7 separate regions of the Homo sapiens genome follow, and all the other regions are linked to region 4. The links are contacts of gene promoters, found by promoter capture Hi-C in blood cells and fetal thymus (Javierre and others, 2016). All regions are on one chromosome and are shown on one strand. Each heading gives the region's core, a stretch centred on a gene start or on the middle of the fragment in contact. The rest is flanking DNA. Distances are from core to core; before and after follow the strand shown. Region 1 overlaps LOC107986634 (a long non-coding RNA gene). Region 2 overlaps LOC107986634 (a long non-coding RNA gene). Region 3 overlaps LOC107986634 (a long non-coding RNA gene). Region 4 holds the start of LINC02880 (long intergenic non-protein coding RNA 2880). Region 5 holds the start of LOC105377950 (a long non-coding RNA gene). Region 6 has its middle 520 kb from the start of RFPL4B. Region 7 overlaps LOC107986634 (a long non-coding RNA gene).

Region 1 (3,772 bases), core at 287-2,786, 1.1 Mb after region 4:
CAATTAGGCATAAACACATACATATAAGTGCACATTTTAGTCGTTCTCTCCCTCTCCCAACCCTCTCCCCTCTCTCTCTCTCGTGCTCTCGCTCTCTTTTTCTCTCTCTTCCCCTCTCTGTCTCTCTCTGTGTCTGTGTGTCTCTATCTCTAAAACCTGTATAATGAATCTTAGAACTATTGAAACTGTAGCTTTCATGGATTCCAGTGCAAACATGATTGTTTATAAACTATTTTCCCTATTATTTGTTTTGGGGACTATGTTACAGAGGGTTGAGTTTGGTAAAAACATAAACTTAGATACAGCTTTACTGTTATGAACTGCTTTCAGTGTATCAATTTCCAGAATCAAGGAAGAAATACAAGCTTGCTATAATGCCTGTCTTCCTGAAAAAGGCCTTTTACAGAATTTAACTAAACCTGACAATAATTTACCATATCTTCCTGAGTGAAATTAAATATAAGAAAAAAGCCCCTCCTGAAGAACTGCATTGCATAGTTCACTTTTTTAAGGAATTTTAGATGTTGATCATTTATCCTAAAATGTTTGCTTGAAATATTTAGTTCTTTTGAATGGAAAAAAATTACTTATTCCCTTCTTTATATATAAATTAGTCTAAATAGAAATTACATAAAATTTCAAAAGATTCATTCAAATCTTTGTCTGTTACTTTTTGTTATGAACAGCAATTTTTTAAAAAGTAATATAATAATTTTGCATTCTGGTTATTATTCAATACAGAATTACCTATTACGTGTTGTCTCTGGGGAAGTATAAAGAAGAAAACATCATTCTGAAAGTCAAGACCAAAAAAAAGAAAGTAGAATAAACTACCACAATTCTTTTTCTCAAACATTTAGTTACTATGTGTTTTGAATTATATCCCACAACTTCCTCTCAAATTAACTCCCTCCCTGTGGTTCACTTATTTGTCCACTCATAGAACAATTTTGAGTGTCTCCCATGTTTTATGTGTTAAGCTATTGTCTGAGTACATGGAGATTAAATGAGTGGTAGGCCTCACCCCCCAAAACATCTAGCAACTGTAGGAGACATTTAAAAACTGGCAATAAGAACATAATTGGAAAGGTGATCATGGTAGAGGCCCATAGTTACAAAATTTCTCAAGAGCACCTCACTTTATCCAAGAAAGTTAACAAAGTCTTCAAAGAAAAGATACAATTTAAAGTCTTTAATAGCAATTATTATTCAAGAAGTTTGAAATGTAAATTAACAAAAAGATACTGAAATGACTCAAAGGTGCCAGAGAGTATGCCTCATCAGAAAACTGCAAGAATTTCTATAAAGCTGGTTAAGAGTGATCTCTTGAGGTTGTAGCAAAAGATTAGATGGAAATGTAAGTAGGGTACAGATAATAAGGGCCCTGGTAAATATCTAAAACTTTGGACTTTTACCTAACTTCAAAAAGGAGCCACTAAATGATTTTAAGCATGTGTTAATAAGACTTGCATTTTAGAAATATCACTCTCACAACTATGTGGCTGATAATCCGACTGGGGTTGGGGAAATTAATTAAAAAGCTGTTCTAGTATTTTAGAGAAATAAGGCAGGTCTGAGCTAATGAAATCTAGTTGAAATGGGGAGCAGAGGAAAGATCTGAATGCTATGTGGAACATAGAGAAGATGGGACTAGGTGACAGATTGGATGACATAAGAGAAAAAGAAGAGTTTAAGATTACCCTCAAATTTCCAACTTGGAACTGAATGAATGTGATATGATTCTTTAAGATAAGAAATACAAGGTTTGGAAGTGAGTTTGGGTTGAAATATGGTGAGTACAATTTTTGAAATATTATTAGGTCTGAAACAGTTTCATATAACTAGGTAAAAATGTTGATTAAGAAACTGAAAACACAGGTCTAGAACTGAAGACAAAAACGTCAGTTGGAGGGTGAGCATCTGTAGTTGATAAAAAATATTTTTGTGGATAAGATCTGTGTAGAATATTCAGAACAAAATAAGCAAAAAGCTACCATCACATTACATTTCAGTGTGTTAACTATACATTAAATTTATGTCAGAAACATTTCTTAAAAGAAAGGCAGAGAGAGAATAATGAACCCAAGCATTTGTTATATTGATTTTCCCATTGAGAATATCAGAGTGTATTGATATGGTCATTGACATGACCCAAGAAGGAATAGTTTTAATTTCCATGTCTGTTAAGCCAGTACCTAAGCTCTCCTTCTCAGATGTTCTATTAAAGGTTCAGTGTCTGTCCTTTTATGTGTGATTTGGATTACCCATCTGCTATTTTATATAGAAGCAGAAATGAAATGGAGTGGCAAAATAACTTGTTGAAGTTCATCTGATATATTCAGATGAAAATCAGGCCTAAACATTAAATAAGGTTGACATTACATTTATCATTATTGTGAGAAAACAAAATGAGTGAATCATATTAAATACTGCAATGTATCAGCATGTATATTTTAAAGGCCCCAGAGAATATGACTTGGTTATCTTTGGCTAAAATAAATAACAATAGCAAAGTCACTCCTATGTGCTCAACAGTTCATTTCCTTTTGTTCCTAGGAACAAATTAATCTACATTTTCCAATGTCTTGCAGTTAGATGGGCTTGAATGATTAAACTTTGTTTAATGCAGTGTAGGCAAAAGTGAAGTAAGTCACTTCCAAGCAGCATTAGTTTCCTGTTGCTGCATAAGAAATTGCCACAAGCTTAGCAACATTAAAAAATACAAATTAGTCCCAGCGTGGTGGCTCACGCCTGTAATCCCAGAACTTTGGGAGGCTGAGGTGGGCAGATCATGAGGTCAAGAGATCAAGACCATCCTGGCCAACGTAATGAAACCCTGTCTCTACTAAAAATACAAAAATTAACTGGGCGTGGTGGTGCACACCTGTAGTTCCAGCTGCTTGGAGGCAGAGGCAGGACAACTGCTTGAACCTGGGAGGCTGAGGTTGCAGTCAGTGGAGATCGCGCCACTGCACTCCAACCTGGTGACAGAGCAAGATTCTGTCTCAAAAAAAAAAAAAAAAAATACAAATTAGGGTGGGTGCAGTGGCTCACGCCTGTAACAGATCACAAGGTCAGGAGTTCAAGACCAGCCTGGCCAATATGGTGAAACCTCATCTCTACTATAAAAATAAAAAAATTAACCAGATGCGGTGGCTCACACCTGTAGTCCCAGCTACTCAGGAGGTTGAGACAGGAGAATCACTTGAACCCGGGAGGCAGAGGTTGCAGTGAGCCAAGATTGTGCCATTGCACTCCAGCTTGGGTGACAGAGCAAGATTCTGTCTCAAAACAAAAACAAAAACAAATTAGTTATCTCACAGTTTCTTTAGGTCAGATTTTGGGGTGTGGCATGACTGGATACTCTGCTCATTATTTCCCAGGATATTGACAGGTTAGGGAGGTGGTGCCTGTTGTTCTTATATGGGGCTCCAGGATGTTTCACGTTCTTTGGTTGTTGGCAAAATTCATTTCCTGAAGCTGGAGGTTGAGATCCTAATTTCCCTACAAGCTGTCTGTCTGCTTCAGATTGCTCTCAGGTCTTTGTCATGTAGACCCTCTAGCTTCAATTCTTAATTTTCATTCTTCTATCTTAATTTTTTTTTTTTACTTTTTTAAACTTTAATTTTAGGTTCAGAGTACATGTGAAGGTTTCTTATATAGGTAAACTCTTGTCATGAGAGTTTGTTACACAGATTATTTCATCAACCAGTTATGAAGCCTAACACTCAATAGTTATTTTTGCTGCCCCTTTCCCTCCTCCGTCCTCAAT
Region 2 (3,708 bases), core at 873-3,372, 1.1 Mb after region 4:
TGTTCACTCTTGAATTAGAAGTTGACAACTTTATTACTGATCCAGGAAAGGATATTAATAAGATAAGATTTAAATGTTTATAGTGCATGAAATTGAAAAGGAAAGCTGAAGAGTAAAAGCCAATTGTAAAGGCTAAATTCATTGCCAGGTATTATTATTATTACTGTTATTTTTGTTGCAATTGCTCTCATCATCATCATCATTATTCCAGATACATATTTATTTGCTATAAGACAACCCAACTACTTTTCACTGTGTCCTCTGTTGCCATCCTAGTCTAAGTCACCATTATTTCTCACCTGGATTACTCCAAATGCCTAGTAAATGCTTCCATGCTTTTCCTATTATCCAGTGAAAACATGGTTATCAGAGTAATCTTTTAAAAATAAAAATCAGATCATAAAATGCTCCAATTGGTTTGCCAATCTCTTAGAATAGAACCAAAATCTTGTAATGAGCTATAAGCCTATATAACATACATCCTGCCTACAGTTTGACTTCATCTCATATTTCTCTTCTTTCTTATTTCCTATGCTCCAGACATTTTATCATTTGCTTTAATCACACTAGTTTTGGTTTAATTCCTTCAACTTGCCAAAGCTTGTCCCTAGAGCACCCTTTACATGGATGGCTTTTGCTCACCATTTGTCTCACATCCAGCCCCTTCCCATACCTGAGAGGCCTTCTTGACTACTGTACCTTATTAGAGCCTCCCTCCCAGTTAATCTATGTAAATCTTGATCATTTTTTAGTCTATATCTCTATGGACATTCTAGACATTCTATATTTATATATTTGATTACATGTTTAGCATTCATCTCCCTCAGAAGAATGTAGGTTACCTGAGGAAAGGGATCTTTATTTTCATTGTACAGAACCATGGTCCTGATACCTAATAGGGACTCAGCATAACTGGTTGAATGATAGGTATTGCATCTCTTCTTATGAAAAGTATACAGACTTTGAAAGTTTAAATAACACCCAAGTTCACACATCTGGTTAATGATAGAATTGAAGTCAATCCAAGTATTTAGTTAGGATTTGGAAAGTCCATAATTTTTTTAAAGCATAATGGCTCAATATAAAATACATCTATGTTCAGCTCATTTAACTAAGGCAAGTATTGGTCTCTAAGAGGTGGCCGTCCTCAAAAGGCAGTCAGAGACCCAGGTCCTTTCCATCTGTGGCTCTCCATTCTCATTGCTGTATCTAGCCAACAAAATGGAAAAAAGAGCATGGGATATTTTTGTGAATCAAGTGTGGAAGTGTTACATACACTCACATTCCACTAGCTAGAACTCAGTAATATAATTTATATAACTACATGTAACTGCAGGAAAGTTTGGGTAGTATGGTTATTATGAGTTAAATTGTGCCTTGCAGGCAAAGATTTCATGACGAAAATGCCAAAAGCAATTGCAACAAAAGCAAACATTGACAAATGGGATCTAATTAAACTAAAGAGCTTCTGCACAGCAAAATAAACTATCATCAGAGTGAATAGACAACCTACAGAATGGGAAAAAAATTCTGCAATCTATCCATGTGACAAAGGTCTAATATCCATAGTCTACAAAAACTTAAACAAATTTGCAAGAAAAAAAAAAAACCATTAAAAACTGGACATAAGACATGAACAGACACTTCTCCAAAGAAGACATTTATGTGGCCAAGAAACATGAGAAAAAGCTCTACTTCACTGATCATTAGAGAAATGCAAATCAAAATCACAATGAGATACCATCTCCCACCAGTCAGAAGGGCTATTATTAAAAAGTCAAGAAACAACAGTTGCTGGAGAAGCCGCAGAGAAAAAGTAATGCTTTTACACAGTTGATGGGAATTTAAATTAGTTCAATCATTGTGGAAGACAGTGTGGTGATTCCTGAAAGATCTAGAGACAGAAACACCATTAGATCCAGCAATCCCATTACTGGGTGTATGTATATACACCCAGTAATGATTTATAAAGAATATAAATCATTCTATTGTAGAGACACATGCACATGTATGTTCACTGCAGCATTATGCACAATAGCAAAGGCATGGAATCAATCCAAATGCCCATCAATGACAGACTGGATAAAGACACTGTGGTATATATACACCATGGAATACTATGCAGCCATAAAAAGGAACTAGATCATGTCCTTTGCAGGGACATGGATGGAATTCGAAGCTGTTATCCTCAGCAAACTAACACAGAAACAGAAAAGCAAACACTACATGTTCTCACTTACAAGTGAGAGCTGAACGGTAAGAACACTAGGCGGAGGGAGAGCATCAGAAAAATTAGCTAATGGATGCTGGGCTTAATACCTAGGTGATGAGTTGACCTGTGCAGCAAACCACCATGGCACACGTTTACCTATGTAAGAAACCTGCACATCCAACAAATGTACCCCAGAACTTAAATAAAAGTTGAAGAAAAACTAAATACATAATAAATAAAAAACATAAATAAAAAATAAATTGTGCCTTTCAAAAAATAACATTGAAATCCTAACATACAACACCTTAAAATGTGACCTTATTTGGACATAAGGTTATTGCAGATATTGTTATTATAGTTATGTTAGGGTGAGATCATACAACAGGATTAAGGTTGGTCCCTAGTCCAGTATGACTGGTATCCTTAGAAGAAGATGGCCATGTAAACACACAAATAGAACGCGACATGATCATGGAGGCAGAGATTGGAGAGATGCACCTACAAGCTAAGAAATGCCAAAGACTTCTGGCAACCACCAGAAGCTAGGAGAGAGGCATGGAACAGCTTTTCCCTCATAGCCCTCAGAATGAACCAAACCTGCCAATACCTTGATTTCAGGCTTCTAACCTCCAGAACTGTGAAAGAATCAATTTCTGTTTCAAACCACCTAATGTATGCTTCTTTGTACAGCAGCTGTAGGAAACATCCATGTGACCTATATGTGTGCCCAGGAAGAAGAGGAAATGGATTTTGTTGAATGTTGAGCAGCTGCTTCCATACCAAATCTGACTTCAAAATGTATGCTCTATGATGTTGCTAAACAAGATGAATTTTAATAAATGAAAATTGATTTAAATTCAAAATAAACATGCTAGTAGAAGAGTCAGGGGAAAACATGACTTTACAGCAGGACATGAGGGAACCAGCAGGAATCTGTGCTTGCCATGAGCTCTGTGTGAGTGATGCATGACATGAGAGAGATGAGATGATAGAAAACAGAAACAGATACCAGTGTGTCCAGAAAAGGCTTTGCTCTTTTTTTTTCAATATAACCATACCAGAAATATTGTGCTTAGAGCTGGAAACCTTAAAATAGGAGCTATGTAGATTCAGCAAAGCCTATACAGAGGAAACTATCTGAGGTGGAGAAGGAACTGAAAACTTTCCACTATTAGGACTGGGTGAACGGACGGGCAATATTTTGCTCAGAGACTAAGCCATTCAATGAGTGATAGTTTTTTGCAAGTATTTTTTTAAAAGAGAAACAGAGATAATCTTTGTTTTATTTAAGCCCAAAAGGTGGAGCTAGGACCTTTTGGTCTAATAAATTGCGATTAGAAAGACAGAATTTGACTCAAGATGAGAATGCACTTTGTAGCAATCAAAGTTTTCCCAAGGTGCACTATGTTAGCATCCAAAGCAACTAAGCTTCAATATTAGAGAAATGTTCAGAAGAGGCTCAAAAAGAGGAAGGACATCACAGTGTGAAGCAAGCA
Region 3 (3,814 bases), core at 684-3,183, 1.1 Mb after region 4:
TTATGTAAATATCAGCTGCTGTTGTTAAAAGGTTAGCTTTTATTGGAGTATTAAGTCAGAAACAGGGTAGAAGGGAATTCTGTTCTTATTCAAAGAGTTCAAAGAAGTCTTTTCTTTCTCTGTATCTGCAGAAATCAATGATAACAAAAAATTTCAAATTTATGAAAGGGAAAGTAAAAAGTTTATCTTCCTGTTTCCCAGTAATGAATGAATTGACATTATCAACGTGGCCAAGACAATCAAACATCAGGTCTATCAGGTCTCGAATGAAGTATCAGTTGACAGCTGTGTTCACTAGCCAAAAGTAGAGTGAAAAGAGCCAGTTATCCATACATTGGGTCTAGCACCAGCCTCTGTGTATTTAGTTCCTTGTGATAGCCACCTGAATGCTCTCTACTGTGTAGGCACTTTGGTGTCTGTCACAAGAGTAGGTTACACTATTTCCAAGCCAATAGGGAAGTAAAATTGTGCCAAGGGGCCTGTCAGAGGCTCAGAAGTCACCTGAGAGGAGGCAAAGCTAAAAAATAGAATCCAAGGTTCTATTGGAGAGAGATGGATGCTCACATCAATGAACTGATGAAGGAGAGAGAGACACACAGAGAGAGAGAACAAATGAATTTCCTCATACAGATGTACTAGACATGATGAGGTGGGTTTGGTTTGATATTTAGCATGCACATAAGTTTTCTAATACTTCCCATCTTTTGAGCCCTTTTGCTTGTTTGTTTACCAAGAAATCTCTTAGTCAAGTATTGTATTCCTTATTTTACATACGTGGAACTTGATGTTCAGTAAATTTAAATGACTTAATGCCTCAGCTAGTAAATGCAGTAGCAAGGATTCAAAGAGATGCCTTGATTCTTCCAGTTTTCTCTTGACCCCCAGGATACTATAAATGTAGCTTACCTTCACTGGGCTCACAGATTGCAGTTCAGCAGTTCAGTTCACAATTTAGTTCACAATTTCCACATCCCTATAACATCTAAAAAGCTAATGCCCAGCCTCATAGTATTACAGTGCAATAGAGAGAGACATAGATGTTCATTCTCTGTTGTGATAGTTCTACAATGATGCATTTTACATGAAGCTTTCTCATTCACATCCACTTGAAGGAACTATTTCTGAAACTGCTTTCTTCTTGGAATGGGGTTAACAGATTGGGGTCCCTCCCAATCTGGAAGAATATAATGAGATCACAAGGTCAAATTCCAATGTCCCATTGAAAACAAATAAATGAAAAAAAATCTACAGAGTTACAGTTCTGATTCCACCTATATACATTAATTTTTAAGCATCTCATTTTCTTCTAAGATCACTTAACAGTTTTCTTCATGAATAATATTGGTGGATAATTACTTTTCATTTGTTTAACTTAAAAAAATTAAGATTTTTTTTTCCCAAATTAACAGAAGCAAACTTCAAGCTTCCACTTGTAGAAAGACCAGCATTAAGTAGCAGCTTTTTCAGCTCACACTCATTAAAGTTGTGATCATGTTAGGGTTCATTTTCTAGCCTCAACACCATTACATCAAGTACCGTAACACATATAGGACATAGGTATTTAGCTCTGACTTGAAATAAATATATTGTGATTGATCCAAGAATAGTCTAATTAAAAGCAGAATTATGGTATTAGATTTGGAAACGGTATGTTGGAGTTGTCTACACAGTCATTGCATCTTTTAAAAATCTTTTTTCAATTTCTCCCTGCCCGTTTCAAACTAATATTTATTATGTTTTTAGTGTCCCCTTTTTCTATAATATAATAAAGACCACTAGATGATAAACACATAACATTTGAAGTTGAGGTTATATGAACTCTATATAGGGATAGTCAAAACACTTTTCAGTTAGAGTATCTTGAATAGAATGAAAAAGGGATTGTTTTAGTGGGTTAGAAGGTTTCAAAGGGTGATTTCAATGGTCAGAGCCAGTTTTATCATTCTTTATAAATGGCAAGGAATTGTTATTAGAATAGCTCATCTCAAACTGAGACCACCTTCCTAGGTCTGCAGCATCCCGACAAGAGTACTTTTTATCAATTTTTATTTTGATGAACATCAAAAAATACTTTATTTATGTTGTGGATTATCTGATGGTCCTATTTTAATCAAATATCTCAAAAGAATTTCAGCTTTCGCATTTCTTATAATTGAGCCCAAAGCTGAAGGAACAAACATTTTGCAATATTTTGATTTTATAAATAGGTATTGGGTAATTGAACTATCACACAGCACCTGGTAAACTTGAACAGCAATGACAAAACACATGCTATGGCAGGCCTTGTAGTCATGTTTGAGAGAATTTATCACACTTTATTACAAATAAGTGTAGCAATAAATATGCAACAGAATTTTTCTTTTTTTAAGAAAATCAACATCAGGCATTCATTTAATTCCAATTTCAGCAATGCTATAATATTCAAATAAACAGGAAAGCTTTCCAGAATTATCAAGTGATATTTCATCAAACAGGTACTTAAGAATTTCTCACCATCATTTTTACTTGTTTTATTTAAGTAGGCAGTCTGGTGGACCTGAACTAACAAACAGGGTCTTAAGGTTTTAAACGATATTTTGATAATATAACTAGGCAAGCCAGTATTTTATGCATTGATATTATTAAATTCAAAATACAGAAATAGATTAAATGTAGACCCAGAGCTGAGATGCCATCTTCCACCATAAGCATGACATGGCGAAGAAGCCACTGGAAAGCATTCCAGACACCTGGGATCTAGTCACAGAACTTTCTCTCGCTGTGCTATTTTGAGGACACTATTTAACCTCCGTAAGCCTCAGTTTCAAAACCACTAAAGTGGCCGGACGTAAGATTATTTCGCATGTCTCTTCAAATTCTAACATGCTATGCAAAGAGATGCCCTAGGCATCTGATGTAAATTGATGCATAACATTTTTAGTTCTCCAAAATATGTAAACCCCATGAATAGTGTATTTTTTGTCATATTCCAAGAGTATTATTAATCTTCAAATTGAAGAATATGGTGAGTGATTCCAATGTTATTCTAAGTAAATACCTAAAAAAGCACCAGAAAATTCATTAACCACTATTATTTGAAGATTATGTTCCAGTAATCTTCTGAAAGCATACATAATAGGTATAATCCCAAATATTTTAATATGGTAGGTACTCCATTAACCATTACATTGTTTGATAAAGCTTTAAACAGTAGTCAGTTATTTCAAACAAGAAACATGCATGTAAACTTGATGAAGACAATATATGCATGCCTTGGTGTATTGAAGTGATAGAGATGAGTTACTGTGTCTATGTTGATGAATACTCAAAGTTTCTAGGTCCTCTGGGACATTAATTAATTAGAAAACAAACTCTTACTATTTTTATGAATAGCTTATCACAGGACACGCTTCCAACATACTTCTTCCTTTGTGTATAAAAAAATACATAACTATAGACCAATGGTTCTCACTCAGGAGCAATTTTGTCCTCCAAGGGATATTTGGCAGTGTCTGGAGACATTTCTGGTTGTTACAAACTGGGAGTGGGGTGGGGGAGTGCTACTGGCATCTAGTGGGTAGAGACTAAGGATACTGCTACACATCCTACAATGCACAGCCCCCCATGACAAAGAATTGTCTGTCTCCAAATGTAAACAATGCCAAGATTGAGAAACCCTGACGTAAACTGCAAGTCTCCATTGACTTCTGTGTCAAGTCTATCAAAAAGTCAGATACTTTTTTGTGCTTCCTCCCCTTACAAATCATGAACTTAAGGCTTTGATTCAACTAATAAAATTTTTCTTTGTATTTTTGTTTCACTCTATAAGTCTCAA
Region 4 (3,719 bases), core at 571-3,070:
CCATCTCATCTCTACCACATCTGAGTCACAGTTTCTAGACCAGAAAACTCTTGCTAACGTTTAGGATTTAGACAGCATCTCTTTGCTTCTCTTTTCCCAATTTTAGACTTCCCTTGTAAGGAATGAAAACCATTATAATTCTGAGAAACCTAGGCCAGACAAAGCCTCATGGCCATTTTCCTCAGCTCATAGTGCCCTACTAGGCCAGGGGCAAGGTCACTCTCCCCGCAATCCACCCATCCTGCTCCAAGTCAGGAGCCCTCACAGAGTTTCTCAGCTTCCCACTAGTAGGTCTTTGTTCATCGCATTCTCCCACATTGAAGCAAATTGGAGCTACCTTCTTTTTTCCCTCCTCTTGGGAGTTGCTTTATTTTGGGTTTCTTTGTACAAATTGTTGCCATAGCCCTTGATGGGAAGGATCAAGATGGATCCTCTCATCCTTCCCCTTACTGAGCAGAAGTGTCTGACCCTCTGGCCTTCTATGAACCATTGGGACCCACACACAACATGTCAGATCCAAAGAGCACTGGCCTCCGAACATGGAAGTAGGTGGGCAACTGAAGGAAAGGTGAATAGTGAGAACAGGGGAGGGGAGGACAAACGGAAGAAGGGAAGGGCCGGGAGATAAGACATTGACATGTGCAGTGAGCTTAGCTGGGCATGGTGGTGTGAGACTGTAGTCACAACTCCTTGGGAGGCTGAGAGGAGAGGGTCGCTTGAGCCCAGGAGTTCACATCTATCCTGGGCAACATAACGAGACCCTATCTTTTAGAGAGAGAGAGAGAGAGAGACCAGAAGTCCTGGACATAGCCAGGCTGTGGGCAGCCCACGGATGAGGTGAGATGTCAATGTGATCACCCCTGGAAGTGAGAAGGAAGGTACGGTGGGGTTATTGAATACACTGTGTCATTCAATTACTGTCATCGTTTGGATTTTATATGGGATGGGGGCTGGGAATTCCTGGTCTACTTGTGCTGGAGAGATGTTTAGGCTTTCTCAGATGGTTAATAGAGGGCACCAGCAGTTGTTTGGTGGCATTGGAGGAGCAGCTTTTTGTATCCCAAATGACCCTTTTCAGATAAAATTGAAGCTGGATTGAGACTTCGGGAGGATAAGTATAAAGTTGTAAGTGGGTGGGATAGAGAACAGCCATGCGAATGTCAAATCTCCTGTCTTTTCACTCCTGTCTTAGGCCGAATGTGAGGTGCCCCGTTCTTTCCTTTGGTGGAGCCTTTGAAGATTTTTCTTTTCTTTAAAGCTCACTTAGCAGTTAAAGACTTGAGATGGGCTGTAAAGCTGTGAAAAGCCTGGGAGGAAATGGTGTTGACATGAAGGGGTAAAGCCAAGCTTGGAGGGGTGCCAGTGGCAGGGACCCACACTAATTCCTCTTGTTCTTATGCCCTTCTAAATATGTCTCTGAAGCACAGGAGAACATTCCTAGGGAAAAACAACGTCCACTCACCTCATTCCAAGAAAATCTGTAACAACGTCCAATTGTCTTTGAGAGGAAAGAAGATGACATTGGGAGACACAGCATCTAGAGGAAAAGCGAGAACCACTGGTCTTCCTTTCAGACTTCACAGTGGGATCTTGGCGCCTCGGATAAACAAAGGCACTGGCAGGAAGGAAAGCGAAAATCAGAGGAGAGGTCTGGCAGGCCACAGCCAGAGCAGAGGCAGTGGGTGAGAAAACCCTGGGTTTGAGGACCCTGGTTCTCTTCCCTAACAGCCTTTGGGTCCCTCTTTCTGAAACAAGGCTTGAGAGCATGTCCTCTGGCCTGGGGGACTTGGGTGAGTCTGAGGCACCCCAGGTAGCAACGATGGCAGGTTTTGCACTTGAGCTGGGGAGAAAGCCAGTGGTGCTGAAAGCAATGGAGATTGAGGTACAGAGATCTTCCTGCCGAACCCATTCCCAGGCTTTCTGCCTTTCTAGGAATGGAGAGAGAGAGAGAATGCCTTGGCTGGTTTCCTGAAATCCAGTTCATGGAGCCACAGCCCCAGTGAGTGCTCACTCAAGAAACAAAGGCTCAAGAGAGGACAGGCACCAGCTAGGAAACTCCACTCCGAAAGGGATCAGCTGTTGCACTCACAGGCACACTGCTTTGGTCCAGGAAGTCAGTAAAAGGCAAACAGGATCCCAGCGAGGTCATTTGTTTTGGAGAAGACAGAGGGAGGAGGAGGGAGGGGCAGCCGTGTGAACGTGCAGTTATGTCAGGGCCTCCCCAGATCCCTGGAACGTCCTGCCTGAGCACAACAGGGAAAACCTCCCCCTGCTCACTAGCCCTCGGGAAGTACAGTTCTCACTGAATGTCTGTCAGCATAATTAAAAAATGAACACCCTTCCAATCGCAAGATCAACGCCAAGGGTTACCTTCCTGGGGAGCTGTCCAGGGGGAGCATGGTTTCCTAAGAAAACTTTTGTGATCTGTGTAGAATATTTTTGCCCCTATTTTTTTTTTTTTCTTCTGAGACAAGATCTGGCTTTGTTTCTATCAGGACATGTTTGGATGTTCTTCCAGAAAGTCTACTGGTAAGAGAGCTCAGTTGGTCTTCTAGGAGAGATAATTGTTGACATATCAGGGGCCAAAGGCTCATCTCTTCATTCCCTGCACTTGGGGAAGAGGTGGCATCATTTCACCCTTAGAGCACAGGATAAATATTATGATTATTCAAGCAAAAAGACATTCTACTGGCTACTTTTGATTTAGCATTACAGTTTCTAATTTATCCCAAAGATGCACTGACAGAAATGGAAAGATGTATTCACAAGGCCACCTATCACAGCACAATTTGTGTATTAGAAAAAACTCAAATGTCCATCAATAGGGGACCCTCAACTATGGTACATTCACACAATGCAGTAGTACACAGCTGTAAAAAAAAGAAGAAGAATATCTCTACATGCAAGTATGAAAAGATTTCCAAAATATATAGTTGATAAATATTAAGATATAATCGTTAAAACTCAAAACAAAATGAAAAAAGTCAAACCTAACTAGATATTGAGTTGGTGGCACATCCTCTTGGGAGAAAGTATTTCAAGTGACATTAAAACCTGGGAATTGACTGTAGACCTCAAGTGGGATATACCCTTAGAACAAAAGGAACTGCAAAAACACACACACACACACACACACAGACACAAACTTCAAATGTTTCCAGTAATTACATCGTCATGGAAAGTTTTCCTATTATTATTCTGAGACTATTGTATATGTTTCCCAGTATAAAACAAGTGAGTAATATGTAGGTGTTGTTGGGAACCAGAAATTTAGGTTGAAAAGAGATGTAAATTTAAGTGGGGTCAAATAAAAGCCCTATAGTCCTGAATCAGACTTTGAATTGGAAACATTCAATTATAAATATGATGTTTTATCTACATTATCTATCTATCTATCTATCTATCTATCTATCTATCTATCTATCTATCTATCTACAGATCCATTCATTAACCTACCCCTAATCTCCTAGCTTTGTTCCCTGAAAAGGCCTAGAAACAAAGAACAACCTGTTAGCAATGATCATCCCTAACACACAGATAATGCTCCCCTACGAGTCGGGGCTCCTTAGAGAAATACCGAGCTGCAGGTCTTAGTGAAAGATGTGCAAGATGCACCTTTAACACGTGGTCCTACCTGAAAACAAGTATACTGTTGAAGACTACCATGGTTGTGTCACAAAGAGTCAAGAGCCAATTTTCAGGGATTCCCATTTGAATAT
Region 5 (3,898 bases), core at 1,338-3,837, 1.0 Mb after region 4:
TCACGCAGGGCCTTCCTGAGTAGCCAAAGGGCTTTAGGGAGAAATCTGAAAAAATGAATTTCTAGTGTAAGTATCACAAAAAAGAACTAAATTAATACACATTATCTTTGCAGCAGTTGACTTTCTCAGTACAGGCAATTACAGAGAAGGCTTACCCCATACTTTAGCCACACTGCTGTTTCTTCATGAGGACATCTGAGCTTCCCCTAAGAACAACCAAATGTCCACTTCCTCAGAGAAAGAAGTTCATAGTGCCACTGGGAAATTTAGCCTCTAAAGATTTATCAAACATATTCTGTGGAGGCTGTCAATTCTTGCCATCAGTTAGCAAAGCAGAAAAGCCAACAGCAATAGGGATTTAGAGTGCCATAGAATTCTAACTTGTCTTGAGGTCACTAAAGTTTTAGCCTCACTTCTTTTTAGTTAGCTGTTAGTTTCTTTGGTAGATTGTATTTTGAAGGAGTAGAGAATACATTTTAATAAACACAGGGTAGTAGACTGGATGATACATTTATGTGGAATGCCTCAGTGGAGTAAGAAATATAAAATTAAGAGCTAGAATGCAGACATCTTTAGAAGAAAAGTGGATAAGAGAATAAAGGACAGGAAACATATTTTAAATGACTCAACAACTTAAGCACAGTCTGAAAAACATTCAATAAGTATATGGTTGTTCAGGGAGGATATTAAAAGATCGAAAGTGTTGATCTGTGATTGGGCAATATCAGCATAACTATATTGACCACCCTGGAGGTAGAAATGTTTTCTGATTGGCCATTGTGAATATGCTTTAACATGTGTGTGGATGACAGATGTGTTTAGATGAGTCTCATCAAGAGGGCAATGTTTTCACTAATGCACTGGATTTGTTCCAGCAACAATGGAGGCACACCCATGAATAAAAAGACAGAGGCTTGGGTAGTGATGTAACTTCAAAATAAAAGGAAAGGTTGGGTGATATCAGTTTCTGAAACTTCCAATTAGAAGGAATAAGTGCATCCTTCTGTGCTTTCTATAATGCCATGTGTTGTGATGTGCTGTTGCTCAGTTAAGTTCGATAATACTTTTCCAAGAGTGATGCAGTGACTAGCTTCAGGAGAATTTTAATTCAAATGCAATGGCCAATATTGTACAGTGTCTCAAGAGATCAAATTCCATTTGGCAGTCTGGCAGATGGATAAAAACATGTTGGTCTACTTTAAGACAAAGTCACATTTTACTAAGTGGCAAAGACTGTAAATATTAATAGCTTAATAATAATAACTAATAATATTTAGAAAGGCAATTTTAAATTGATTCACCAAAAGATATTTAGGGCTGAAGAACTTAATTCTGCATTTGTATACATACTTAACTCCATGATTTATGTATTGATAATCAAAAAATGTATTTAGCCAGGTCAGTTAGACAGCCAATATAATTTAAATTTTGCAGCCTTAGATCACTCTTAAAGTATATGTTTATTATTTTATTATTAAAATAATCCCTAATCCTATTTCTATGTTATCAATAAGGACATTCTATAGCAGAATTCTAAGCAAATTCTGATGGCAGAGATTTCTTTCTTTCTTCTTTTTTTTTTTTTGAGATGGAGCTTATACCTTACACAGAAAAACAGGAAACAAGTTCAAATTTAAGAAATAATATAATAATTTTTAAAAGTTCTGAGAACAACCTCTGCCTCTTGTTTAGCCTAAAGTATGTCAATTGGCAAGTGCTTTTTGGATTACCAATACAAGTGAAAAAATGCTATTCAGCAAGATGCCGCCTGTCAGTCACACCCTGGTCCTTGGCCACCCCTGTGCAGCCAGCTACAGGACCTTTATGGATCACTAGGGGCCTTCACTACACTTCTGGAGAAGCTTAAGTCCTCTCCATGGAAACACAGGAGCTGACTCAACCCCCTCGCTGTGCATTTTTTTCATCCTCCACCCTACTCCCCCAACTATTTTTTTGTTTCGCTTGTTCCATACTGAGTAATCTTTTTCTGTCTTTTGGTTACACTCTTTAAGTCCTGTTCAGAGAGTTAAGTGCAAATGCTAGGCTCCTAAAAAGCCTATTTTCTGAAGTGAGTAAAAATTATGGGCAAAAATGAACAATATGAAATAACCTTTTCAGTGGGAACCTTGAAAGACATGTTGATATTTTAAAGAGCAAAGTTTGCCTTATCAAGCCCTGAATGCCTAAAGGGAAAAAAAAAAATAAGAAAGAAACAAGCTCTATGTCCTTTCCAAACTTTCACCTTACCTTGACAAATAGACTCTTGCTGTTACCCTTTGTATGAGTTTTCTACGGCTGCCATAGCAAAATGCTACAGACTGGATGGTTTAAACAACAGAAGAATTTTCTCACAATTTTGGAGGCTGAGAGTCTGAGTTCAAGGGGTTGGCAGGTTTTGTTTCTTCTGAGGCCTCTCTCCTTGGCTCCCAGGTGGTCGCCTTTTTGCTGCGTCCTCACATGGTCATCCTCTTTGTCGACTGTGTCCTAATCTCCTCTTTTTATAAGGGCACAGTGGTATTGAGTTAGAACCCACCCTAAAACCACATTTTAACTTAAGTACCTCTTTTAAGGTTCTATTTCCAAATGCAGTTGATGGCAACAGCTGCTGCCATTACCCCGGCTGCAGCAGAGAGGAGGGCTGGGGCTGCACACTCTGTGGAGTCAGTGGGAGCCCCACTCCTTCTGATTTGGGGCAGAAACTTCCCGGGTGCCACTGCAGCCGCCCAAACCTCAAACCTCGGCAGCAGATCCAGGCCCCCTGCTTCACGTAACAGGCAGGAGCCCCACCCTCCTGCAATACGTAGCGGGGCTACATCAGCCAAAACTGCAGCTGTGGATCCGAGCCTTCCTGTGCTCTTGGAAGGGGCTGGGAACAGGCAGGATCTGCCCTCCCTGGTGCAGTTGCAGCCACCCAACCCGCTGCTGCTGACCTGGCCCTCTCGCTCCACGAGCAGGCAAGGGCCAGGAACAAGCAGGAGCCCCGCCCCTTCCGAGTTGATGGGGCTGGAGCTCCCTGGGTGCAGCTGCAGCGGCCAGACCCACGCATCTCTGCTGCCTGCCCCCTGGCGGCTGGGAAGGCCCGCATGTCTCTTCAGGCTCCGGGGTATCTGATCCCGCTGCCCGGTCTCTCTCCTCTCCTGGCACCCGCTGGGATCTCAAAGCTGGGTTGGGGCCCAGCCCTTGGGCCATGAATGGCTGCAGGAGGCAGAAAGATTCCTGTGCCGAAGGGGGTTGGTCCCTGGTAAGGCCCCTCCTTCAGGAGTTGCCCCCTGCGGGTCTCCTCTGAGCTGTTAGAACACTCAATAAAGCTTCTCTTCATCTTGCTCCCCTTCCGCTTGTTTCCATACCTCATTCTTCCTGGATGCAGGACAAGAACTCGGGCAAAGGCACCACCTGCCACAGACGTTTCCACCTGCCACAGAGATATTCCACCCTAAATATCCTGTAACACAGTCACATTCTAAAGTACTGGGGGCCAATACTTCAACATATGAATTTGGTGTGTGAGGAGGGGCACAATCCAGCTAATAATACCCTTCAACAATATCTTAATGTTTATTATCTTTGATGATAATTTTTTATAATTGTGTCACGGTACATAATTGTTGCTATTGTACTGTTTAAAATAAAGCATTGCAAATTTTAAGACAAAATACCTTTTGTTTTGTTAGTGGACATTTTGTTACAGAAACATTAGCGATGTCTTTTTGTGTCTACATTATAATTTAGTTCAGATCCTTGATCAGTGTCCCTTTAAAAACATAGTATAAGTCTAAACTTTAAATCTTAAGATGTTACCTGTATTAAGTATCTAATATTTTCAAACTGACTGACGTCTTTATTCTGTAGAATACCTTCCAAGATTTTTGTTGTTTATTTTTTATGTGATATACGTAGT
Region 6 (3,876 bases), core at 644-3,143, 1.0 Mb after region 4:
GTTTACCATTGCCATGACAACACCCAGAAGTTACCGCCCACTTTCTAGCTATTTCTGAATAATTTGCCCCTTAATTAGCATGTCATTAAAAGTGGGTATAAATACAACTGCAAAACTTCCCCTAGGCTGCTACTCTGGGCACGCTGCCTATGGGGTAGCTCTGCTCTGCAGGAGCAGTCACAGAGCTGTAAACATTGCTACTGCTTCAATAAAGCTGTTTTCTTCTACCAGCAGCTTGCTCTTGAATTTCTTCCCCAGTGAAGCCAAGAACCTGTCCTGCATCAAACAGATTAAACATTGAAGTTTTATCATTATTACTATTTCATGAATTAGCTCAGTCATTAATTGGGTAAAGTAGTCTCCATGTACATGAAGTCTAGGATATCACACATGAATTGCTAACACAGAACTTGCGAGACCTTTTGTCATCCTTTTCTCATTCTGGAAGCTACTCTGGAAACGTAAGGGATAAAGGAGCACCTTACTTAAAGCAACATGAGTGATTCATGGCCCCTAAAAAATTGTGACTATGACAAAGCATGTCTTACACACATCCTTCTTCACCTACCCCAGGGTCTTGTGGCTACCCAGGAGCCTCATGCCGTTTCCGCATCCCTTTATAGCTTTGCTTCCCAGAAAGACCCTTTCAGAATTCAAGCACTGCCCAAGCCTTCTCTAATTTGGGATATATAATAAAGTAAATAAATAAGTGACAACATAAGGTTATTTTAAACATTGATTTAGGTGTTATAAGTTAATAGTTTAAAGGCAACAACCCACAGCTGAACTAAAGGCCCGTCTGGTTATCCCAGTGAGGCTGTCTCCAGTTAAGCAGCAATCTCCCAATAAAGCCAAACTTTCCCTTGCCTCACAGGAATTTCAACCTAATAGAGCTTAGAACCTTAGACTAAAGTAAAGAAGATTTATCCAATTAGAATTTAAACCAACAGCCAGAGGGGAGAGAGAGAAGAATTAGGACCTTGTTGAAATGTTACCACACAGGCAGCTACTTATCTAACTTCTGATTAAATACAGAGCTAAATGAAATCTCTCTAGTTTTTTGTAATAAAGGAAACCACAAATTTAAAAAGGAATATGAGTGGGATTCTATTCTTAGGTATAATGAACCATTCTTTCATTCACTCTTTTAAAAATTATTTAAGAATTTCAATAATATTTCCAGTCCCAGTTTAGGGGAATAAATCATGAAAACAGATTCTGCCCTTGCCCTTGTGGAGTTTATAGTTCAAATGGTAAGAGGCAGACATTAATTAAGTGATCATACCACTATTACATGACAGTACAATTTTGATAAGTGCCATGAAGGAAAAGTGCAGGCACTATAGTGGAATACAATAAAAGAATTTGACATTGTCAAAAAGATCAGGAAGAACTTTGAGTAAATGATAATTGGGTTCAGATATGAAGAAGGAATAGTAATAATCTAGAGAAAAATGGTAGGAGAATGTATTCTAGGCAGCAGCCCTGTGGTAGGAGCAATTGCAAAGGCCCTGTGGTAGAAGCAGCTGCATAATGTATACAAAAATAAAGGTAGTAAGGAATGGTTGGAACATAGATATTAAGAAGCTTCATGAGATCAAGAGTTGGAAATATAGGTAGGGCCCTACAGCGAACTTTTGCTAAGATTGTTTTCTTTAATTATAGAAGGAAATGGATAGTCTGAAATATTTAATCTGGATGTGGTGATCTATTCAAATTTGCATTTCAAAAATATCACTCTGGCTGCAGTAATATTTCTATCCTGTATTTAAAAAACTGCTGATGACTTTTTTGGAAAAAATAAGGTCATTGTAGACATAGAGACCTACAAACTTTATAAGAAAAAATCTTCAGAAAAGGTTTAACTTCAAGTGTTCTACTTGTGTTTTGTCTGTTGGACTAAGAAGTTCTTACGAATCTATGAATCAAATCATCCCTGGCAAGTATTTGAATATTTGATATGACACCCCTGATGAACTGTCTCAAAATCTATGTGACTCTTCCAAGACCAAGAGACTTAGAAAATCAACAAGTAGCTTAATAGTTTATCTTTGGACAGATGTCACCATGAGAAATATCTTCTTTAATATTGATCTCACGTCTTTTTTACCTATTAGTCCCTATTATATTATGATCAACTCATAGTGATCAAAAAGTTGCCTAGGGGCAACTTTACATGCAGGCCATGATGGAAGCTTGCTCAGGGCATCATAAAGACCTCTGGAGAAGAAGAAACCAGGGCTCTGGGCATGGTGATCTCTGGGAGGTGGAGGCCTAGAACCACCAAGAAAGGAATTACAGTAGTCTTCCCTTATCTGCGGTTTTGCTTTTTGTGATTTCAGTTACCTGTGGGCAATCATGGTCCAAAAATATTAAATGGAAAATTCCAGAAATAACTCATCAGTTTTAAATTGCAAGCCATTCTGCATAGTGTGATGAAATGTCACACCATCCTGTGCTGTCCCTCTCCTTCCCACCAGGCACGTGACTCATCCCTTTGTCCGGTATATCCACACTGTAGATGCTGCCTGTTAGTTAGTTGGTAGCCATCTAGATTATCTGATCCACTCTCTTGGTATCACAGTCTTGTGCTCAAGTAGCCCTTGTTTCATTCAATAATGGGCCCAAAGTGCAAGAGTAATGATCCTGGCAATTTGGATGTGCTAAAGAGAAGCCATAAAGTGCCTCCTTTAAGTGAAAAGGTGAAAGCTCTCGACTTAATAAAGAAAAAAAAATCATATACTTACGCTGTTAAGATCTACAGTAAGAATGAATCTTCTCTTCATGAAATTGTGAAGAAGTACAAAGAAATTCATGCTAGCTTACCTCCTACCTCAAACTTCAAAAGTTATGGCCACAGGACGTGATCAATGCTTAGGAAGGAAAAGGAATTAAACATATGGAAAATCTGAACAGAAATTAGTTCTGACTGATGGCCATCGGGTTTGGTATCATACTATATGAGATGTCAGTTATCCCCTGGGGGTCTTGGACCATATACCCTGGAATAAACAGGGATCAGGGGAGGAATACTGTACCTGATTGTAATGGTTTATATACCACTAGTCTTTTATGTTGTTCAAAAGTGTATAAATTGTGTCTTCAGCTCCTTCAGTATAAAAATAGAATATATATTTTCTGCAATTCTGGCTTTTAGTGTTAATATGGTATATTTTTCCATGTGTTCACTTTTAATCTGTCTTCATTTTTACATTTAAAGCAATTTTCTTGTAGACAACATATACTTGAGCTTCTTAAATTTACATATTATTGCGATAAGAACACTTAATGTCAGAGTATCTGTCTTTTAATGGGAGTATTTGGATCACTCACATTTGAAGTGGTTAATAATATAATTGGATTAATATCTACCATATTCCCAACTATTTTCTATTTGTTATCTGTTCTTTGTAACATTTTTGCCTTGCAGTCCTTTTCTGCCTTCTCTGGTTTTAATTGAACATTTTACATAACTGCATTTTGTCCTTTCTCTTAGCATATCAGCTATACATTTAAAAAATTATTCAGTGCCCTAGAATTTACCATATACACTTCCAAAAAATCTAAGTCCACTTTCAAAGAACAGTTTATGGGTGACGCAGGTACTTTAAAACAGAGCACTTCAATTCATCCCTCTTTCCCTCATAATATTGTTGTCATTCCTTTCACTTATCCAGAAGCAATAATCACTCAGTACACATTTTTTAATGATTTTATTTTACCTTTGTTTATTCCTTCCCTAACATTATTCCTTTCTTTATGCAGATACAAGTTTCTGATCCATATCACTTTCTCCTCTCTGAAGAGCATCTTTAAACATTTCTTTCTGGCAACAAAATTCCTGAATTTTTATTTGACTAAGAAAGTATTTGCCCT
Region 7 (3,558 bases), core at 976-3,475, 1.1 Mb after region 4:
CCCAAGAGTGAAGTTTTTCTATCCTTACCAGCATTAGTATCAAGCATCAGAAGAATATCCAATATTCTGCTTCCTGATTAGGAGTCACTTAAAATACTAACTTGTCTCATAAACACAAAATCTGGACTAAAAATTCTAAACAGTTTTCATTTTCCAACCATAATAAATATTTACATTTAAACAATTATGTTTGCTATTTGTTTTGTCCTTTAAAAGATACAATATGTTCAAGAATATCTCCCACGCATAGAATATGGGTGGGAGGGAGATCACCTCTAAAAGACAAATGGTAATACAAATCACTGTGCTTCCATAGTAACTGGTTCAAGAATGATATCATTAAGGGGTCTAAGGCGGTGTTTGCTTCAAAGATGATCTTATTTATAGAATGCCATGCCTGATGTGTCTATCAACAAACAAGCTGTTATTTACTTTTTGTAGCTTTTAATACCTTCTGGATCTACCATCACCCGCTCCACACTAATCTACATAACCTTCTTTTCTTCCATATCTCCCCTCCCTCCATAATCTCCCCTTCCTTGAAAACCCCCTCCTCTACCCCATTCTTCACCATCTCCCTCTTCTTACTCTCCCTCACTTGTTCCTCCTCCACAAATCTCCCCCTTTTTCACCACCTTAGCCACTCATCCCTCCCACCACCTGTTCTACCCTCCTCACCACCACCATCCTCACCACTCCCTTCACTATCTACTTACTTATTTACTTTTTTTTTATAAGAGGGCATTTCAGAGAGTAGTGGTTCAATTACATTTGTAACTTCTTTCCTGTCAGGAACACATTTCATTGGCACCTTATTGGTGCATGCTATCTTGTTCAAGTGGTTCCACTACTTTTTCTAATTATCTTGGATGGATCTTCATGAGCAGCAAGGAGATGTACAAAGGTCATAGTTGTCGTGGATGATAAACCATAATTCTTAGGCTGGTAAATTTTTGCTATGATTCAATAGCAAACATTTTGCTAAATTTTTCAATTTAGCAACATTCACATGTTTTCTGCAGAGATGTTTACTCATGTAGCACCATTCAATATGGTTATTGAAGAAAAATATCAACTAACCATTGATAAATAGAATATTCTATTTTAAGAATCATGGTACCAAATACTCAGTGACTTAAAATGAAACTTAAATTTATAACTAATTTAAACAAGTAGCTTCAAATTAATTAATTTATTCATTATGTACCATTATATGTCAAACATTGCTTTACATGCTTATATATGTTATGCCTAGTCTTCACAACTTTTCCAGATGTATATCACCTCTACTTTATATGTGGGGAAACTTAGGTTCATTAAGTCCAGAGCTCCTTATAGCCTTTTGATACAAGTGGCTTAAATATGATTTAAACTTAAATCTATCTCATTTAAAGCACCTTCTAGAAAGAATTATTATTTAAAAATATGAGTTTAGCATACAATTTTTAAAAATCTGAATTCACACTTAAGGAAGTTGGGAGAAGAAAACTAATAATTTCTGATGGAGAGTTATGGAGTTTGTTTGAAGTATCAGAAATTTCCAAATGGAATAGTCTAGGTGGCCTTGGGGACTATAAGAGTGAAGCTTGAGTAGACTCAGGTAGATTTGAGAATCATCTGTTTAGTTATAATTTTTTGAAAGCTGGAGAATAGATGGATAATGCCAGTGGAGAGGATGTAGAGAGTAGAGAAAGACAGACCAAGAGAGGAGCTGTGATGCCCTCATTTGGGGTGGGAAGACGAAAAGTGGGTCAAGGCCTGAAATGAGAAGCCATAGTGGCAGGAGGGCCACCTGGGCAATGTTATGTCAGGACAGGCAAGAAGGTGAGCTTATCAGAAAATAAACCATCAGTATTGCTGTGTCCTACAGGGAACCTGGGTAAGGTGAACTGTGAAAGGTGACAATCTTCAGTGGGCTGTGCTTCTTCAGGTAATACAGTAAAGGAAAAGGAGCAGGGGAGGTCAGGACATTGAAAACTTTTCTCTTACGTATATTATCCAAGACGTCCCAATGGTGAGATTTACTCATCCTAAAAGGGAGGACAATTATTAAGTTCTGCCTCTTAGGGTCAATTCTACTCAACAATAGGCCTTGGGTAATTTATCTTTGGCAACTACCAATCTTTCTGTGTTCACGTCAGTTTTCTTTTCCCCTATGTGCATAGGAGTAGAACACTCTCCTCTTTGTTGCAGGCATAGAGATATACTATTATTTGCTTCTCCTTTTCTGTGATTAACAGTGATCCTCTTTAATCATACTAATTATCTGTGCCATGTTATTTCACTTTTCAAATTAAAAAGAACTGCCACCTCTACTTTTTTGGGATTTAATTTTTCAAAAATTACTCCGTATTAGGTAATATTATCCCTATTTTATGGATGAATAACTTTAAATAGAAACTGCATATTATGCATTCACTCTGTACCAGGAACTCCGCTAAGTATTGCATGCCCTCAGTTTCATTTAGTTCTCATAAATTTAACAATAATAAATGAAAAAGGATAGTCAGTGTGGCAAAATCTCGTTGAATTTGAGTGATGGGAATATCGAGGCTCATTACACTGTTATTAACTTCATGAATATTTGAAATTTTTATGAAAAATTTGAAAATCCTGACAATTAGTGAATTTGAACACTTTTTCATGTACCTGTTGGCCATTTGTATGTCTTCTTTGGAGAAATGTCTATACAGGTCCTTTGGCCATTTTAAAATCAGATTGCTTTATTGTTATTCAATTGCATGAATTCCTTGTATAGTTTGAATATTAACCTTTTATCAGATTATGATTTGCAAATATTTTCTCCCATTTCATAGGTTTCAATTTCATTTTGTTGATCATTTTCTTTGCTGTACAGAAGCTTATTAATTTGATGTAGTTCCACTTACTTACTTATTTTTCTTGTTGCTTGTGCTTTGGGGGTCATATACAAAAATATCATTGCCAAGATCAGTGTTATGGAGAATTTTCTTAATGTTTTCTTCAAAGAGGTTCATGGTTTTGAGGCTTACATTTCAAGTTAACTTTTTTGAGTGGTGTAAAATAGGGGTTCAATTTTATTCTTTTGCATATGGATATCCAGTTTTCCCAACACTGTTTATCAAACAGACCTCACACCTGGGATGGCTGTTATCAAAAAGACAAGTGATAACAAGTGGCAGAAGGAAGTAAAGAAAAGGGAACTTTTGTGCACTGTTGGCGGGAATGAAAATCAGTAAAGCTGCTATGGAAGGCAGTAAGGAGGGTCCTCAAAAAATTGAAAATGCAATTATCATAGGATTCAGCAATCTCACTTCAGGATATATACTTGAGGGAAACAAAATTAGTATCTCAAAGAGATATCTGCACTCCAGTGTTTATTATAGATTTTTCTTTCTTTATTTAGAGACAGGGCCTTGCTCTGTCACCAAGTGTGGAGTGCAGTCACAGCTCACTTTAGCCTTGAACTCCTTGGCTCAGGTGATCCTCCCATGTCAGCCAGCTGAGTAGCTGAGACTACAGCCACACAACATCATGCCCAACTAATTTAGATGAGGTCTTACTATTTTTCCCTGGCTG

What was found. Contacts are between HindIII fragments. The CHiCAGO score rates a contact against its expected background, and 5 or more counts as called.
Region 1: a fragment that was not itself captured here is called in contact with the fragment with the promoter of LINC02880 in region 4 in 10 of 17 cell types (neutrophils, total B cells, naive B cells and 7 more); the score reaches 17.7 in neutrophils.
Region 2: a fragment that was not itself captured here is called in contact with the fragment with the promoter of LINC02880 in region 4 in 4 of 17 cell types (M1 macrophages, naive B cells, total B cells and 1 more); the score reaches 5.8 in M1 macrophages.
Region 3: a contact is called between a fragment that was not itself captured here and the fragment with the promoter of LINC02880 in region 4, in 11 of 17 cell types (M0 macrophages, M2 macrophages, M1 macrophages and 8 more). The highest score is 48.2, in M0 macrophages.
Region 5: a fragment that was not itself captured here is called in contact with the fragment with the promoter of LINC02880 in region 4 in 2 of 17 cell types (M0 macrophages and M1 macrophages); the score reaches 8.0 in M0 macrophages.
Region 6: a contact is called between a fragment that was not itself captured here and the fragment with the promoter of LINC02880 in region 4, in 3 of 17 cell types (total B cells, M1 macrophages and M0 macrophages). The highest score is 5.8, in total B cells.
Region 7: a fragment that was not itself captured here is called in contact with the fragment with the promoter of LINC02880 in region 4 in 7 of 17 cell types (monocytes, neutrophils, M1 macrophages and 4 more); the score reaches 7.4 in monocytes.

Annotation. Positions count from the first base shown.
Region 1 is chr6:112,798,194-112,801,965 of GRCh38, reverse strand. The region is part of intron 1 of LOC107986634 (a long non-coding RNA gene); the gene reads left to right. Among named protein-coding and RNA genes, the nearest start is that of RFPL4B, 450 kb to the right of the region's middle. The HindIII fragment of the contact is 2,337 bases long and covers 368-2,704 here.
Region 2 is chr6:112,841,742-112,845,449 of GRCh38, reverse strand. All of the region lies in intron 1 of LOC107986634 (a long non-coding RNA gene), which reads left to right. Among named protein-coding and RNA genes, the nearest start is that of RFPL4B, 500 kb to the right of the region's middle. The HindIII fragment of the contact is 3,040 bases long and covers 603-3,642 here.
Region 3 is chr6:112,781,198-112,785,011 of GRCh38, reverse strand. All of the region lies in intron 1 of LOC107986634 (a long non-coding RNA gene), which reads left to right. Among named protein-coding and RNA genes, the nearest start is that of RFPL4B, 440 kb to the right of the region's middle. The HindIII fragment of the contact is 1,015 bases long and covers 1,426-2,440 here.
Region 4 is chr6:113,902,488-113,906,206 of GRCh38, reverse strand. It overlaps LINC02880 (long intergenic non-protein coding RNA 2880), which reads right to left and starts at 1,820. Exons shown (of 4, transcript NR_027060.1): 1 at 1,463-1,820. The HindIII fragment of the contact is 3,143 bases long and covers 1,350-3,719 here.
Region 5 is chr6:112,879,188-112,883,085 of GRCh38, reverse strand. It overlaps LOC105377950 (a long non-coding RNA gene), which reads right to left and starts at 2,969. Exons shown (of 4, transcript XR_942885.3): 1 at 2,248-2,969; 2 at 1-45. RefSeq lists an enhancer at 2,419-2,947. The HindIII fragment of the contact is 1,446 bases long and covers 1,865-3,310 here.
Region 6 is chr6:112,861,593-112,865,468 of GRCh38, reverse strand. No RefSeq gene overlaps it. Among named protein-coding and RNA genes, the nearest start is that of RFPL4B, 520 kb to the right of the region's middle. The HindIII fragment of the contact is 608 bases long and covers 1,590-2,197 here.
Region 7 is chr6:112,823,343-112,826,900 of GRCh38, reverse strand. All of the region lies in intron 1 of LOC107986634 (a long non-coding RNA gene), which reads left to right. Among named protein-coding and RNA genes, the nearest start is that of RFPL4B, 480 kb to the right of the region's middle. The HindIII fragment of the contact is 1,275 bases long and covers 1,588-2,862 here.